4 separate regions of the Homo sapiens genome follow, and all the other regions are linked to region 1. The links are contacts of gene promoters, found by promoter capture Hi-C in blood cells and fetal thymus (Javierre and others, 2016). All regions are on one chromosome and are shown on one strand. The core of a region is centred on a gene start or on the middle of the fragment in contact, and the rest is flanking DNA. Distances in the headings are between cores, read along the strand shown.

Region 1 (3,602 bases), core at 738-3,237:
ATTGCACTGTGCTGAGACCAGCCATAATTTTTGTATTTTTAGTAGAGACTGGGTTTCACCCTTTTTTTTTTTTTGAGATGGAGTCTCACTCTGTCATGCAGGCTGGAGTGCAGTGGCGTGATTTCGGCTCACTGCAACCTCCATCTCCCGAGTTCAAGCAATTCTCCTGCCTCAGCCTCCCGAGTAGCTGGGACTACAGGCACATGCCACCACGCCTGGCTAATTTTTTGTATTTTTAGTAGAGACAGGGTTTCACCGTGTTAGCTAGGATGGTCTTGATCTCCTGACCTCGTGATCTGCCTGCCTTGGTCTCCCAAAGTGCTAGGATTACAGGCATGAGCCATCGCACCGGCCAAGTTTCACCATTTTGGCCAGGCTGGTCTCAAACTCCTGGCCTCAAGAGATCCACCCTCCTTGGCCTCCCAAAGTGCTGGAATTCCAGGAATGAGCCACAGTGCCTGGTCTCTATTTTATTAATTTATTTTATTTTATTTTATTTTTGAGACAGGGTCTCACTTTGTCACCCAGGCTGGAGCACAGTGGTGAGATCTCAGCTCACTGCAGCCTTGACCTCTGAAGACTCAGGTGATCCTCCTACCTCAGCCTCCCCAAGTAGTAAGTGGGACAACAGGCGCACACCACCACACCTGACAATTTTTGTATTTTTTGTAGAGACAGGGTTTCGCCATGTTGCCCAGGCTGGTCTGGAACTCCTGGGCTCAAGGAATCCACCCGCCTTGACTTCCCAAATGCTGGGATTACAGGCGTGAGCCACCAAGTCTGGCCCAAGACAATTTCTTGTTTTATTTTTCTTTTTTACTTTTGCTTTTGGGTGGGGACAGGGTCTCACTTTGTCACCCAGGCTGGAGAGCAGTGGCCCGATTGCACCTCACTGCAGCCTTGGCCTCATGGGCTCAAGCGATCCTCCCATCTCAGCCCCCCAAGAAACTGGGACTACAGGCACGTGCCACCACGCTTGGCTAATTTTTTGTACTTTTTGTAGAGACGAGGTTTCGCCCTGTTGCCCAGGCTGGAATTTCTCATTTTAAACACAAAACAGATACAAAAGCAAAAGTTCTCCTCCCATACCTCAGTGGACTGTCTTACTCGATTCTCCCTTGGAAACCACTTTCGTAGACCACTGAGCCACCCTCTTGTTTTCCCCTTGGACCCATTTTGCTCATGGAGGCGCCCTGTCTAGTTCCTACCCAGATAGGCCTTGACTTGGTTTTGCACATTCTATCTCTGCCTGCGCTTAGCTCTAGACCTCACGACCTGTTTGTTGGGCGAGTTGCTTCCCTAAGCCCCGATTTCTCATCTGTAAAACGAATGATAGTGTATCTACCTTATGGGATTCCTATGGCAATTACGTAAGGTAGTGCATGTAAAGATGCTAAGTGGCTGGCTACGGTGGCTCACACCTGTAATCCCAGCACTTTGGGAGGCCGAGGTGGGCAGATCATTTGAAGTCAGGAGTTCAAGACCAGCCTGGCCAACATGGTGAAACCCAGTCTCTACTAAAAATACAAAAATTAGGCCGGGCATGGTGGCTCACGCCTGTAATCCCAGCACTTTGGGAGGCCGAGGTGGGCGGATCACAAGGTCAAGAGATCGAGACCATCTGGCCAGCATGGTGAAATACCATCTCTACTAAAAATACAAAAATTAGCTGGGCGTGGTGGCGTGCACCTATAGTCCCAGCTACTCGGGAGGCTGAGGCAGGAGAATCACTTGAACCTGGGACGCCGAGGTTGTAGTGAGCCGAGATCGCACCACTGCACTCCAGCCTGGGCGACAGAGTAGGACTCCGTCTCAAAAAAAAAAGAAAAAGACGCTAAGTGAAGGTAGCTGTTTGCCATTCCTACCATCTGGATGGGCTCTGGCCACTTTAGGGCCCTGAGAGCCCGGCTGTCGAGGCCCCGCCCCGGCCCGCTCTTTGTGACGCGTGGGCGGTGCCCGCGTGCGCCCCGCCCCGCGCCTGCGGCTCTCTCTGCGGCTTGGCCCGTTAGAGGCGGCTTGTGTCCACGGGACGCGGGCGGATCTTCTCCGGCCATGAGGAAGCCAGCCGCTGGCTTCCTTCCCTCACTCCTGAAGGGTGAGAGGTTTACACCTGCTCCAACAGACTCTCCCCGGGCTAGTCCTCTCCCTCCCGAGAGCTCTGCTTTTACGGTTTCTGGATCGCTTCCTCATGGTGGTCGCGCTGGGTCGGCTCCCTAGGTCCTGGGATACTCCCATCTCCCCCCGCCCGCGGCCGGACCTTTGCCTCTGTCTCTAGACTCCCCCCGCCCTGGTCAGCAGGGATAACCCTCACCCCGTTCCTAATTTGCCAGTCTGGGTCTGTCTGTCCTGGTCTCGGAGCGGGTTTTGGGGTTCGGTCCTTCCATCATCCGTTCGCCCGCTCCGCAGTGCTGCTCCTGCCTCTGGCACCTGCCGCAGCCCAGGATTCGACTCAGGCCTCCACTCCAGGCAGCCCTCTCTCTCCTACCGAATACGAACGCTTCTTCGCACTGCTGACTCCAACCTGGAAGGCAGAGACTACCTGCCGTCTCCGTGCAACCCACGGCTGCCGGAATCCCACACTCGTCCAGCTGGACCAATATGAAAACCACGGCTTAGTGCCCGATGGTGAGGGCCAGACTAGGGGGGAAACCGAGGCACCCAGAGTGTTCACCCAAACCTCAGGGCAAAAACCCCTGTGCTCATGTGAGGCGGGGAAGGGCATGGCTGGCACCACACCATGAGCTCGTACTCTCCACCCTCCCCATGGCGTGGAGTCCATTGCCCACAGCCCCACCCCAAGCTCCCCACGGGTTCATCTTCTCCACCCCTGCCCTTTCTCAGGTGCTGTCTGCTCCAACCTCCCTTATGCCTCCTGGTTTGAGTCTTTCTGCCAGTTCACTCACTACCGTTGCTCCAACCACGTCTACTATGCCAAGGTGAGGCCCAGGACAAAGGTTGGATTTGGTGCCCCAGGGCCAAGGGAGAGGCGGCAGCAGTGGGGAGTTGAGGAAGGGTTCCAGGAGAGTCATCCTTAGCTCCTCCTTCCCTGCCATTTTGCCAGTCATTTACCCAGATTATATATGAATACAGTCTCACCTTGGATATTCAGATTGAACAATTCTGTTACTGCAAGAAAAGTAGAGAAGAGACTGGGCATGGTGGCTCATGCCTGTAATCTCAGCACTTTGGGAGCCCGAGATGGGCAGATCACCTGAAGTCAGGAGTTCGAGACCAGCCTGGCCAACATGGTGAAACCCCGTTTCTACTAAAAATACAAAAAAAAAAAAAAAAAATAGCCGGGCTTGGTGATGGGCGCCTGTAATCCCAGCTACTCGGGAGGCTGAGGCAGGAGAATTGCTTGAACCCGGGAGGCAAAGGTTGCAGTAAGCCGAGATCATGCCACTGCACCCTATCCTGAGTGGCAGAGCAAGACTGTGTCTCAAAAAAAAACAACAACAGGGACGAGTGCGGTGGCTCACGCCTGTAATCCCAGCACTTTGGGAGGCCGAGGCAGGCAGATCATGAGGTCAGGAGATCGAGACCATCCTGGCTAACACGGTGAAACTCTGTCTCTACTAAAAATACAAAAAATTAGCTGGGCG
Region 2 (3,602 bases), core at 788-3,287, 170 kb before region 1:
GGGGCTAGGTCTCACCCAGGAGCCCCACTCACAAACACTCCCATGATCCCCACAATCCTCGCCCTGTCAGCAGGCAGGCTGCCCCCAGGCTCACCCCAGTGCTCAGCATTGCATGATGGACCCAGCTGAGGGCAGATGTAGAGGGCAGGGGAGGAGACTGAGGGTCAGCAGAGGCAATCCTCAGCTTTCATACTGGGCGGGGCCTTCCTTAAGCATCCCTGCAATTGATGGGGCAGGCAAGCTGGCTACTTTCCCAACTATGAGGCTGGCTGGGGGGTTCTGGTCCCCATGCTGGGACTTCCAGGTCTCTTTTGCCTCTGGTTCTTGACCAGTCAGGAATCTTCTGGATGCCCCAGGGATTTGGGGGTGGGGCTCAGCCCCCTGGACAGGCTGCAAGGGAAAGATGAGATGTGGGAGGGAGAGGGCAAAGGTAGGGCCTGGGCTGGTCTCCAATCAGCCTCCTGTGCCCCCTTTCTTGAAACTATAGGCATGACTGATTACTAAGGCCCTGAGGGTCATTCAGAACATTCCTTTGCCTTAACTCTGACAGCTAAACACCCCACACAGATGAGAGCCGCACTCTTCCAGACCTCTAGGGAAGAAGGTATTCCCACCTCCCTGTCTCCTTTAGCCCTTCCTCCTCCCGCTGGAACTCCCAGGTTCCTTCTTAGAACATCCCCTGCTCAGCACTACTCCACCCCTATCTTCAAGTCCCTAAATGTCTCTTCAGAACTACTGATGGGAGACACAAGACTGGTTTCCTCTTGAGGGTTCACAGTGAACTGGGATATGGCATCACAGCCTTCCTCCCCTACCTGCCGGTCTCCTGGATGCAGGGGTCTTGGTGCTTAGCCCCTACTTCCCCAAACCTGGGTGATCACCCTCCAGCTACCCATATCTGGGAAAATGGGAGAAAGGAGTCTGGGACCGAAGGGGGTGCTAGGGAACCTGAAGGCGGGGAAACCGCTGACATCAGAAGCATCCAGAAATGGAAAGAGGGGGAACTAGGGAGAAGGAGGAGAGTTTGAGCAGAAGAGAAAGAGGGGGCAAAGTGGTAGTATCTGAAAATAGCAGGAAAAGCTCAAACCCCCTGGAGAGGAGGCTTTGGAGGGAGGAGGGACTGGAGGAGGGAGGGAGGGAGGGAGCAGGGAATAGGAGGCTGAGAAGAAAAGCCAAATGTTCAATAAGGTGCTGACTCCCCGTGGGGAGACCTTGACTCTTCCTCCCTGGCCCAGAGCCTCAGTTTCCCTCTCATGGGAGGAAGGATGGTCCCAGTTTTAGTGCGTGATGCTGAGCTTCAGTGAGCCCTGGGAAGGGGGGTAAGGGAATCGGGTGAAACCCTGAACAGAGTGGGGCTGTAAGGAAGCACATAATGGCTTTAGGGTAAGTGGGGTAAAAATGGGGCACAGCAGTGAAAGGGTCTGTTTCCCATGGAAGCAGCTCAGACCCTTGCTTTCCCCAAGAGGTCCTGGTCCACCCCCACCCTTGGCTTCCCTCCGGAGCCCAGTACACCCTAGTTGCCATGGCAATGGCCAGCCAGAGGGAGGTGGAGGGACTTGGCCAAGAGCAGCCCCCAGTGTCCTCTCCTACAGCCCTGGACCCCTTCCCACCCACCTCCACCCAGGCCCAGCTGGTGGGCTCAGGATGAAAGAGATAGGGAGTCAGAGAGGGAAGGAGGCAGGAAAGATGTGAAGGACAGAGAGAGGGAGGTGAAGGACAGGGAGAGATCAGAGGAAGGTGGGAAGGGGGATCTGGGAGGTTCCCTGGCCGACGGGGTCCCTCGCCCTTTGGGGTGAAGGGGTAAGGTCAGGCGGCTCCTCCCTCCTGTCCCCCTCCAGGTTCTCCAGGGCAGAAACAGCAGGTGGCTGGGGAGGAGGGGCCGGCCTAGGGGAGAGGAGGCAGCTTGAGGGGGAAAGGGAGGCAACACAGGGGACGGGGCAGGCAGGGGTCGTCTTACCTCTCTCCGGCTGCGCCCAGCACTGCCATGGAGACCGCACTCCCGACGCGGCTCTCTCGGGCTCCCGCTGCCTGCCGGCTCCAGCTCGCCCGCCCTCCTCCCTCCTTCCCTCTCTCCCTCCCTCCCTTCCCCCGGGCCTCCCTCCTCCCCCTCAGTCCCGGCCTCCCAGGCTCAGCCCACGGCTCACTCGGTCTCTGCCCCTCTCACTCTCCAGGACCCTCTCTCCCGGGGTCGTCCTGCCAGTGAGCCCAGGCCAGAGGGAAGGCAGGACAGCTTTGTGGGGGGCGGGGGGGGGCGGGAAACGAGTGCAGGGTGGGGAACTGGACGGTGGTGACTCGGGGAGGAGGGGCAAGGAAGGCGCTGAGAGGGAGGGCGGTGAGGAGGATGGCTGGGAACCGGCTTCATTGGTGAAATGGTTCATGTCCTGCCCCCACCCCTTCCCGTTTTCAACACGAACACAAGCTCCAAGAGGCAGCTGGTGTTGTTGGGGACTGAGGAGCTAGCTGTTCGGGGAGGAGGAAGCGTGTGTCACTGTGTGTATCTGTGTGAGGGCTGGGCCTTGGGTTTGGGAGTGAGGGGGCTTGTGGTGCACACTGGGGCTGCTTGTGGAGTTGGGGGTGGTTGTGCACAAGCTAAAAGGATGTGGGCGCATGCATGCACACAGACACACACACTCTGCCTCCTCCTCCTGGAACACAAACACATATGTTGGGGATACAATTTGCACACACATGTTACAGTTTCTCATAGTCCTTTTTCTCTGCCACACACATACACCAGGAGAGCTCACACAACCCTGAGTCTCTCCCCCACGGTATATCACACACATGTAATTACAGAGTCTCAGCCTCACACACACACAGGCCCACACAGAGCCCTGTGGGTTGTGGAGGTGGGTAGCCAGCCTCCACAGAATTTTTCCCTCTCCAGGGAAACTTCATCTCCTTCCTGGGGCACGCCCAGCAACCTCTCCTCTGGGTCCGACCCCAAAGACCAGAAGATTCCTGGTCCCCAGAGAAGGGGTCTCTCTCTCTCTCTCTCTCTCACACACACACACACACACACACACACACACACACACACACGAAGAGCATCTTTATAGTAAGTTTATTGTATTTTTATTTCAGCTCAGGGGAGCAGGGGTGGAGAGTGGGCACAAATGCAAAGTAAGCAAATGGGGAGCCCCAGCAGCAATAGGGGGGTCTTCCTGGAAGAGGCAGGCTTTAAAGACAGGAGGAGAAGGAAATAGGGAAAAGGAGTTGGGACTGAGGGAAGTGGTGAGGAAGGGTAGGAAGAGAGGGGATCCTGAGAGAAGTGGATCAAGAAGATTTGTAACCCTGATTTCCCTGTGTCCTGAATGGTCTGGAGGAGGGTAAGGGAGGGTGTGGGGCAGGCGCAGAGCCTGGCACAATCACCTTTGAGGTCCCTTAGAGGGTTCCCTCTCAGGCTAGCTACCCCCTCTCCCAGCAAAGCTCGCTTCCAGGAGGTTCTGCACAGGGTCAGTGACTGGTCACTGGGCATTCTCTCCTGCAGTGCCTGTGCTCCCAGCTTGCGCTCTGATTAGAAGAGCCAAAGGCTTTGTCCTCTGGTAACAGATTCTGCCACCAGCGGGGGATGAAGGAGGGATTTTAGACAGGGAGGCCTT
Region 3 (3,602 bases), core at 472-2,971, 150 kb before region 1:
GCCAACATGGTGAAACCCCATCTCTACTAAAAATACAAAAATTAGCCGGGCGTGGTGGCATGCACCTGTAGTCTCAGGTGCTTAGGAAGCTGAGGCAGGAGAATCACTTGAACCAGGGAGGAGGAGGTTGCAGTGAGCCAAGATTGCACCACTGCAAAAAAAGATGCACATGTACTACAGAGAAAAGATATCCTCAAAATGACCCCGTATAGTAATTAGCTACTTAAGGTTCATGCCTACAGAGTGCATATCATGCATGTACTTAAAACTATGGGAAGGAAATGACACGTAAACACACAGAGGCCAAGAAACTAAGCAACCCACCTGTCAACCAAAAGGCACATGCTGGCTAAAGCTTAGGCAGCTTGAGGAAAAAGAGAAAAAAAACACATAGAAAAGGCCATGAAATATAGCAAAGTGATGCTGATACCATTCGCAGGTCATCCTTGATCCATAGTGGATCGTACTGTGCTTAATAAACTTTTGCTGCTTTGCTATTTGTGTGTGTCATGTCCAATTTTTTGTTTGCGGCACCAACAACTTGGGACTTCACAACATCAGCCAGTAACAAAGTAAACTTGCACACCCCTAACTGGATGCTCTGAGATACACACCACGAAATGCTATGCTCAGGCCAGGAGGGGGTTCTTTGCTGGGATGAGTGAGGAGGGGATCAGAAAAGGATGCATGGAGAAGGTGGCAAATTGGCGGGGAGACCATGGAGCCAGGCCAGGACGTGGAAATGCTTGAAGGCCGTGCTGAGATGCTGGGACTGGATCCTGGGCACTAGAGAGCCAGCAGAGGATTTTCTATAGAGAAGAAGATTATTAGATTTGCCACGTGGACCCCTGCAGCTGCTGAGTGAAAGAACTGGAGGAGGCGAGGCACCAAAGGCAGAACTGCAACCATCCTGGTCAGCAAAGGGCCTGAGCCAAGTGGCTGTAGAAATGTGTGGGACAGTTCTAAGGTGACGTTCCCAAGAATTGGGGCCTGATACAGCGTGAGAGGTATGGGGAAAAGAAAGAGAGATCAGATTGTTACTGTGTCTATGTAGAAAAAGGAAGACATAAGAAACTCCATTTTGATCTGTACTAAGAAAAATTGTTCTGCTTTGAGATGCTGTTAATCTGTAACTTTTGTCCCAACCCTGTGCTCACAAAAACATGTCCTGTATTGAATCAAGGTTTAATGGATCTAGGGCTGCGCAAGATGCACTTTTAAAAAGTTCTTGCCTCACACGTGTAATCCCAGCATTTTGGGAGGCCAAGGCGGGCGGATCATGAGGTCAGGAGATCGAGACCATCCTGGTGAACACGGTGAAACCCCATCTCTACTAAAAAAATACAAAAAAATTAGCCGGGCGTGGTGGCGGGCGCCTGTAGTCCCAGCTACTCGGGAGGCTGAGGCAGGAGAATGGCGTGAACCCGGGAGGCAGAGGTGGCAGTGAGCCGAGATCGCGCCACTGCACTCCAGCCTGGGCGACAGAGCAAGACTCTGTCTCAAAAAAAAAAAAAAAGAAAAGTTCTTGCAGGCAGTGTGCTTGGTGAAAGTCATCACCATTCTCCGTTCTCTATTAACCAGAGACACAATACACTGTGGAAGGCCGCAGGAACCCCTGCCCGAGAAAGCCTAGGTATTGTCCAGGTTTCCCCCCACTGAGACAGCCTGAGATATGGCCTCATGGGAAGGGAAAGACCTTACAGCCCCCCAGCCCGACACCCGTAAAGGGTCTGTGCTGAGGAGGATTAGTGAAGGAGGAAGGCCTCTATTCGGTTGAGATAAGAGGAAGGCATCTGTCTCCTGCTCGTCCCTGGGAATGGAATGACCCGGTGTAAAACCGATCATACATTCTATTTTGAGAGAGGAGAAAACTGCCTTATGTCTGGAGGCGAGACATCATGGCGGCAATACTGCTCTGTTACTCTTTACTACACTGAGATGTTTGTGTAAAGTTAAACATAAATCTAGCACATCCAGGCACAGCACCTTTCCTTAAACTTATTTATGACACAGAGTCTTTGCTCATATGTTTTTCTGCTGACCCTCTCCTCACCTTCACCCTATAGCCCCACCACATTCCCCTCGCGGAGATAGTAAAGATAGTGATCAATAAATACTGAGGGAACTCAGAGACCAGCACCGGTGCAGGTCCTCACTTGCTGAGCGCCGGTCCCCTGGGCCCACTTTTATTCCTCTATACTTTCTCTGTGTCTTATTTCTTTTCTCAGTCTCTTGTCTCCACCTTGCGAGAAATACCCACAGGTGTGGAGGGGCAGGCCCCCTTCAGAGAGGTCAGGGGAGAAAGAGCAGAGGGCCATTTCTCTGTCCAATATCAGACCAACCCTACAAGGCCTCTGAGTGGGCCAAGCAGAAGGCGTTGGTCCAGGGTTTGGATGAAGGAGAGTTTCCTGTGCGCTTGGCAGACAGGCGAGACTGGGGGTGGTGGGGGCAGGGCAGAGAGGCTCTGAATGGACCATGGGGAATGGACAGCTGTAGATTAGAGGAGCGATTCCCAAAGTCCTGGATCAGTAGCAGCGGCAACATGACCTGGGAACTTGTTAGAAATGCAGATCCTCGGCCCCACCCCAGACCTGCTGAATCAGAAACTGGGGGTGGGTCTAGTCATCTGGGTTTTCACAAATCTCCAGGTAACTGATCACGCTCAAGTTTGAAAACCATAAGTTAGATGGAGAGGAAAGGGGAGAGGTGTCCCCATTCTGAGGTGTGCAAAGGTGGTAGGGATGTGCGAGGAGGCTTCGGAGGAAAGAGAGGGCTCAGGGAGGTGATGGTGGAAGAAGGTATGGGAAAAGCCTTTGAGGCTTGACTGTAAATCTTTTTATTTTTAGTTTAGATCCACTCTGTCACCCAGGCCAGAGTGCAGTGGTTCAATCATAGGTCATTGCAGCCTGGAACTCCTGGGCTCAAGTGATCCTTTCATGACAACACCCAGCTAATTTGTGCAGGCAGTGATTGCAAATATTGACAGGCAGGTCGAAGAGCTGGAGCTTTGTCCTGGAGGTGAGGGGACCCACTGCTGATTTTTTGGTAAAGATGTGGCATGGTCTGTGTGGAGCTTCGGGAAGCTTGATGTGGTAACTGGGGACCAGATGACATGGGACTGGAGCAGTGATTATAGGAAAGGCACCAAGATAGCACCTCAAAGGAAGGCTGGAGCAGGGCTCAAGTGTCTTTGAATCCAGGCCTAGGATATAAAGTGGGCTCAGAGAGGTGACTGCCTGGGGAAGGTGTCACCATGGACCTGGCCCCTGCTGGTGAGACAAGATCTTGCCTCCAGACTTACTCTGTCTTCCAAGCTTGGTCCTTCTTTCCCCCAGTGGCATCTTTGCCGTTGAAGCTTGGTGACGATCTGCCTACTCTGAAGTCCCACAGCACCCCGTTGACATGCTCCTGGGTGTGTTCCACCTTCTACTTTGTGTATAGTGATTTGGTTTCTCAACTCTCCTCCTCTAGCTTGAGCCCCTTGAGGACAGAGATGACAGTCTAGCCAGCTGTGTGGCCACCACAAGCCTGGCAGCAGCTGAGACATAGAGAGAGGACTTGGTATGGCTTTGGCTAACTTAAGCCAAATTGAATTGTATGGA
Region 4 (3,602 bases), core at 456-2,955, 130 kb before region 1:
ATAATACAAAGGCGGTGCCTGCATTCACAGCAGTCTGTGCCCTGCCTTGTCCACTGCACTGCTCAACTCCTCAGGCCTGCCGCAGCCGGCCCAGTGACCTCCGTTGGGGTGTGACAAGCAGTGACCACTGGGTGGCAGTGTGTTCTCATGCCTGGGACCAGAAAAGCCTCCAAGGGCTGAGGAACGTGGGGGGTGGGGCAGAGGTAGGAGCCCCAGCCGGCTGCCCAGAGAGGTTTCCAGACCGGATCTCCTGGAAGACTTGACAAGGCAGTCCTCTGCGCGCCGCGCGTGTGTGTGTGTGTGTGTGTGTGTGCGTGTGCGCGCGCGCGTGTGTGTGCATGTGTGTGTGCACGTGCGCGCGAGCATATGTGCGCATCTGCTGCAGCCGGAGGGCCAAGGACAAGTGCTGAAGTGCAGCTGAGTGTGGGGTGGGGTGGACCCAAAGGACAAAAATATCAAGGAAACCAGGGCAGCCAGCGCACTGTGGGTGGAAGGTGGGTGGAAGGACGGAGGAGAGAGCTGCGGAGGCAAGGGGCAAGGGCTTTTTCGGGGGAGCTTCAGAGAAATGATTACCCAGGAGAGAGAAAGAGAGAGTGAGCGCAAGAGAGAGAGAGACCAAGAAAGAAACACGAAGCAGCCAGAAACAGAAAAGGGGAAGGTGAGGGAGGCTGGCTGGGGAAAGTAGGTTAGGAGGCTAGGGTGGGAGAAGGGAGCCCTCAGAGGCTGGGGAGAGACGGGAACCTTCACTTGGACAAGAAAGAGCCAGACTCAGGCTTGCTGCTGACAGGGAGTTTATTTGGACTGGGCTGCTGAGATCTGCTGGCTGCCTCAGCTCCAGGTCAGAGCTGCTCCGGCTCGGGCTCGGGCTCGGGCTCCGGTTCCGGCTCCGGCTCCGGCTCCGGTTCTTGCTCCAGCTCCTCTATCTTGCTCTGAGCCTGCGGAGGGTGAATCCCTTGCTCTAAGGCAGAAAATCGTCTTGGTCGCCACTGTGAGAAGAGATGGAGAGAGAGACGGAGGGCGGAAGGAGGAGAAGGATGAAGGGAAGCGGATGAGGAGGGACACTGAGTCCCTCTATTTTTTCTCAGCGCCCCTGCCCTCCCCATCTGGTCCTGGCTTTCTCCCAACCCCCCTTCCAGCCTACCCAGGCACAAGCCATCCCTGGAGTGAGAGGCTTATGAAGAAGGGGGGCTCTGAGGGCAAGTTCAGGGTCCCATTTGGTCACCTTCCTGAGGAAGGGGTGCCATCAGCACTCTGAGGATGGAAGAGCGGGAGCTGCTGGGGGGCGGGGTTGCCATGTCCCTGGCTCACCTGTCTTCTCCAAAGGTGAAAGCCAAAGGCTCCAGTCACCAAAAGGAGCAGAGAAAGGACACCAAGGATGAGAAACAGCAGGAGGTGGCCTGCTGGGAGGGCACCTGGGGCTCTCCCAGAGCGTTGGGCACCTATGGAGAAAGTACAGGATGAGGCATAGGGTCAGGACTAGAAAGGACACTTTGTCATTCTCTCAGACTTTACAGATGCAATGAGATCCAGAGAGTTTAAGGGACTTGTCCCAGGGTCATTCAGCTGATCAGTGGCGGAAACGGGTCAACCCTAGGCAAAAGCCAGAGATCAGGTCCCTGACTGGAAAGAAAAGCGCTGGGATGGGGGTGGCAGGGGCTGTTCTGGAAGGAGGATAAAGATTATTGCTGTGGCGTTTGGGTCCTGGCATTCTGGGGCCTCGGACCTGGGCTAGACAGCTCTGTGAAGTACACTGCTGCTCCAAGAAGCCTCTCCCCCTGGTACAGCTGGCATTGCCAAGGCTGGGAAAGGAGCTGGGCCTCCTGTGCCTCCAGCCAAGGTCCTGAGAAACTCCTCTGGGATGGGGTGTCCAGAGAGCTCCACACAAAGCGTTCTTGTCCAGATACTGGAGTCACCTCACAAAGCAGCTTCCCCAGGGATCCAGGTGACCCAAAGGATTTGGGAGTCACTGAAAAGAGTAGAAGGAAGAGATCTTTTGGGATTCTGCCCCCCTTACGTGATATCACAGGTTGAACCCCAAGTCTCAATCACCCTGCACTCACTTGGGTTCTGGCCAGGGGAGGTTGGGGAAGGACATCATGGGTCATGGCCACGTTCATCTTTTTCTTTCTATTTATTTTTTTATTAAATTGTATACAGATGCGTTTTCACCATGTTGCCCAGGCTAGTCTGGAATTCCTGGACTCAAGTGCTCCTCTCGTCTCAGCCTTTCAAAGTGCTGGGATTACAGGTGTGAGCCATCATGCCCTGCCGGCCACATTTATCTTATTCAGACAATGCTCTAGTCAGCTCCCTCCCCTGCTCAAAACATTTCCAGGCTCCCTACTGCCTTCACACTCAAACTGGCCCTGGCAGACCACAGAATAAATACTATTACAGATTCTTTTACATTACTTTCTACTCAAATGCTCAGAACCCTCAAAATCAGTCAGATGAGCTGACCCCCATCTACTTCACAATTTTGGAACTTCCATGATGCGGCTCACATCAGTGTCCCCTGCCTTGTGGTGCCCCCTGAATGAACATCATCCCCCTTTCTGAAGGTATAGAGAACAGGGAACTGACCCATTCATCTAGAGACAGAGCATTCTCCAAGTTGTAAAGTGAGAGATGGGTGGGTGGGAGGAGACAAAGGGTGAAGGGCATCTGAGTAGTGTCCTGGAGAGTGATTTGGTGATGCAGACACCTGAGTTTAGACCCAGAGTCTGGCACTTCCCAGCTGTTTTGAGAAAGTCTTCGGGGTAACAGTATCTCTCTCATTGAGCCGTCTACATAAAACAGTTGACCTTCAAGAGGGCATTGGACAGAAAGAACTGGTGGACTTTGATGACTGATGGGATGTAGAGAGGAGGAGGCCAGGTTTCGAGGTGGATGGATACCAGTGGATTACTGACAGGCTGAGTCAGCAAGGGGATTGGTGGGAGAAAAAGCTGGGGTTCAGGGTAAGGCGGCTGAGAGGTGGTATAACATCTAGTTAGAGGTATCCAGAAAGCAAGTGAAAACTCAGGATTGGCCTTCAGGAGATGTATTATCCATTAGCATGTTCACGTATTCATTCAATCTCTATACATTATTAAGCACCTGCCGTGGGGTGCTACTACTGAGTGGCCGCAGGTGCGTGCTGCAGACATGGCTAATCTGTCATGGCCGATAGTTATCAACCAGTCAACACATACTCTCTGAGTATTCTTTTTTCTGTGTTTGTTTTATACTGTCTTGGAAAACCCTTGCTCAGTAAATATTTGCTGACCAAGGGACGGATTTATTCACTCCTCCCAAATCCAGGCCACTTCCTGCAACTCTAACCCAAGCCCTGGCTGCAAAGTAGACAAGGATTCTAGAAATATATTCTACCTCTTTCGAACCATTCAGAATTTTTGTCACCTTTCCTTCTAACTTCCCAGACCCTCCCGCCAATTGAGAGCAGGGGAGTCCCATAGAGAACGGTGGAACTTTTATCTTGTGACTCAAGAGGAGATTTTCAGTTTCGTTTCTTTATTATGGGGGTGAGAAAAGTGGGGGCCGAGATGGGCAGGCTCTGGAACTTGTGCCCAGTGGCCTGGCATCACAGGGTGGGTTTGCCT

The links. The method cuts DNA at HindIII sites, captures the fragments that hold promoters and counts their contacts. A CHiCAGO score of 5 or more calls a contact.
Region 2: the fragment with the promoter of GPR162 here is called in contact with the fragment with the promoter of ACRBP in region 1 in 12 of 17 cell types (naive CD4 T cells, endothelial precursors, activated CD4 T cells and 9 more); the score reaches 10.1 in naive CD4 T cells.
Region 3: a contact is called between a fragment that was not itself captured here and the fragment with the promoter of ACRBP in region 1, in 14 of 17 cell types (activated CD4 T cells, naive CD4 T cells, non-activated CD4 T cells and 11 more). The highest score is 23.1, in activated CD4 T cells.
Region 4: a fragment that was not itself captured here is called in contact with the fragment with the promoter of ACRBP in region 1 in 17 of 17 cell types (naive CD4 T cells, activated CD4 T cells, naive CD8 T cells and 14 more); the score reaches 20.0 in naive CD4 T cells.

Annotation. Positions count from the first base shown.
Region 1 is chr12:6,645,817-6,649,418 of GRCh38, reverse strand. ACRBP (acrosin binding protein) reads left to right here and starts at 1,987. Exons shown (of 10, transcript NM_032489.3): 1 at 1,987-2,095; 2 at 2,407-2,625; 3 at 2,842-2,936. The coding sequence starts at 2,053. RefSeq lists enhancers at 2,060-2,129, 2,053-2,566. The HindIII fragment of the contact is 16,958 bases long and covers 1-3,602 here.
Region 2 is chr12:6,820,256-6,823,857 of GRCh38, reverse strand. GPR162 (G protein-coupled receptor 162) reads right to left here and starts at 2,037. Exons shown (of 5, transcript NM_019858.2): 1 at 1,958-2,037; 2 at 1-390. It overlaps CD4 (CD4 molecule), which reads right to left. Exons shown (of 10, transcript NM_000616.5): 10 at 3,059-3,602. RefSeq lists an enhancer at 2,054-3,026. The HindIII fragment of the contact is 21,739 bases long and covers 1-3,602 here.
Region 3 is chr12:6,796,087-6,799,688 of GRCh38, reverse strand. All of the region lies in intron 1 of CD4 (CD4 molecule), which reads right to left. Among named protein-coding and RNA genes, the nearest start is that of CD4, 8.4 kb to the right of the region's middle. The HindIII fragment of the contact is 2,728 bases long and covers 358-3,085 here.
Region 4 is chr12:6,775,628-6,779,229 of GRCh38, reverse strand. LAG3 (lymphocyte activating 3) reads right to left here. Exons shown (of 8, transcript NM_002286.6): 6 at 1,724-1,966; 7 at 1,309-1,439; 8 at 775-986. The coding sequence ends at 840. Among named protein-coding and RNA genes, the nearest start is that of LAG3, 4.9 kb to the right of the region's middle. RefSeq lists enhancers at 1-265, 468-517, 266-916. The HindIII fragment of the contact is 5,544 bases long and covers 1-3,602 here.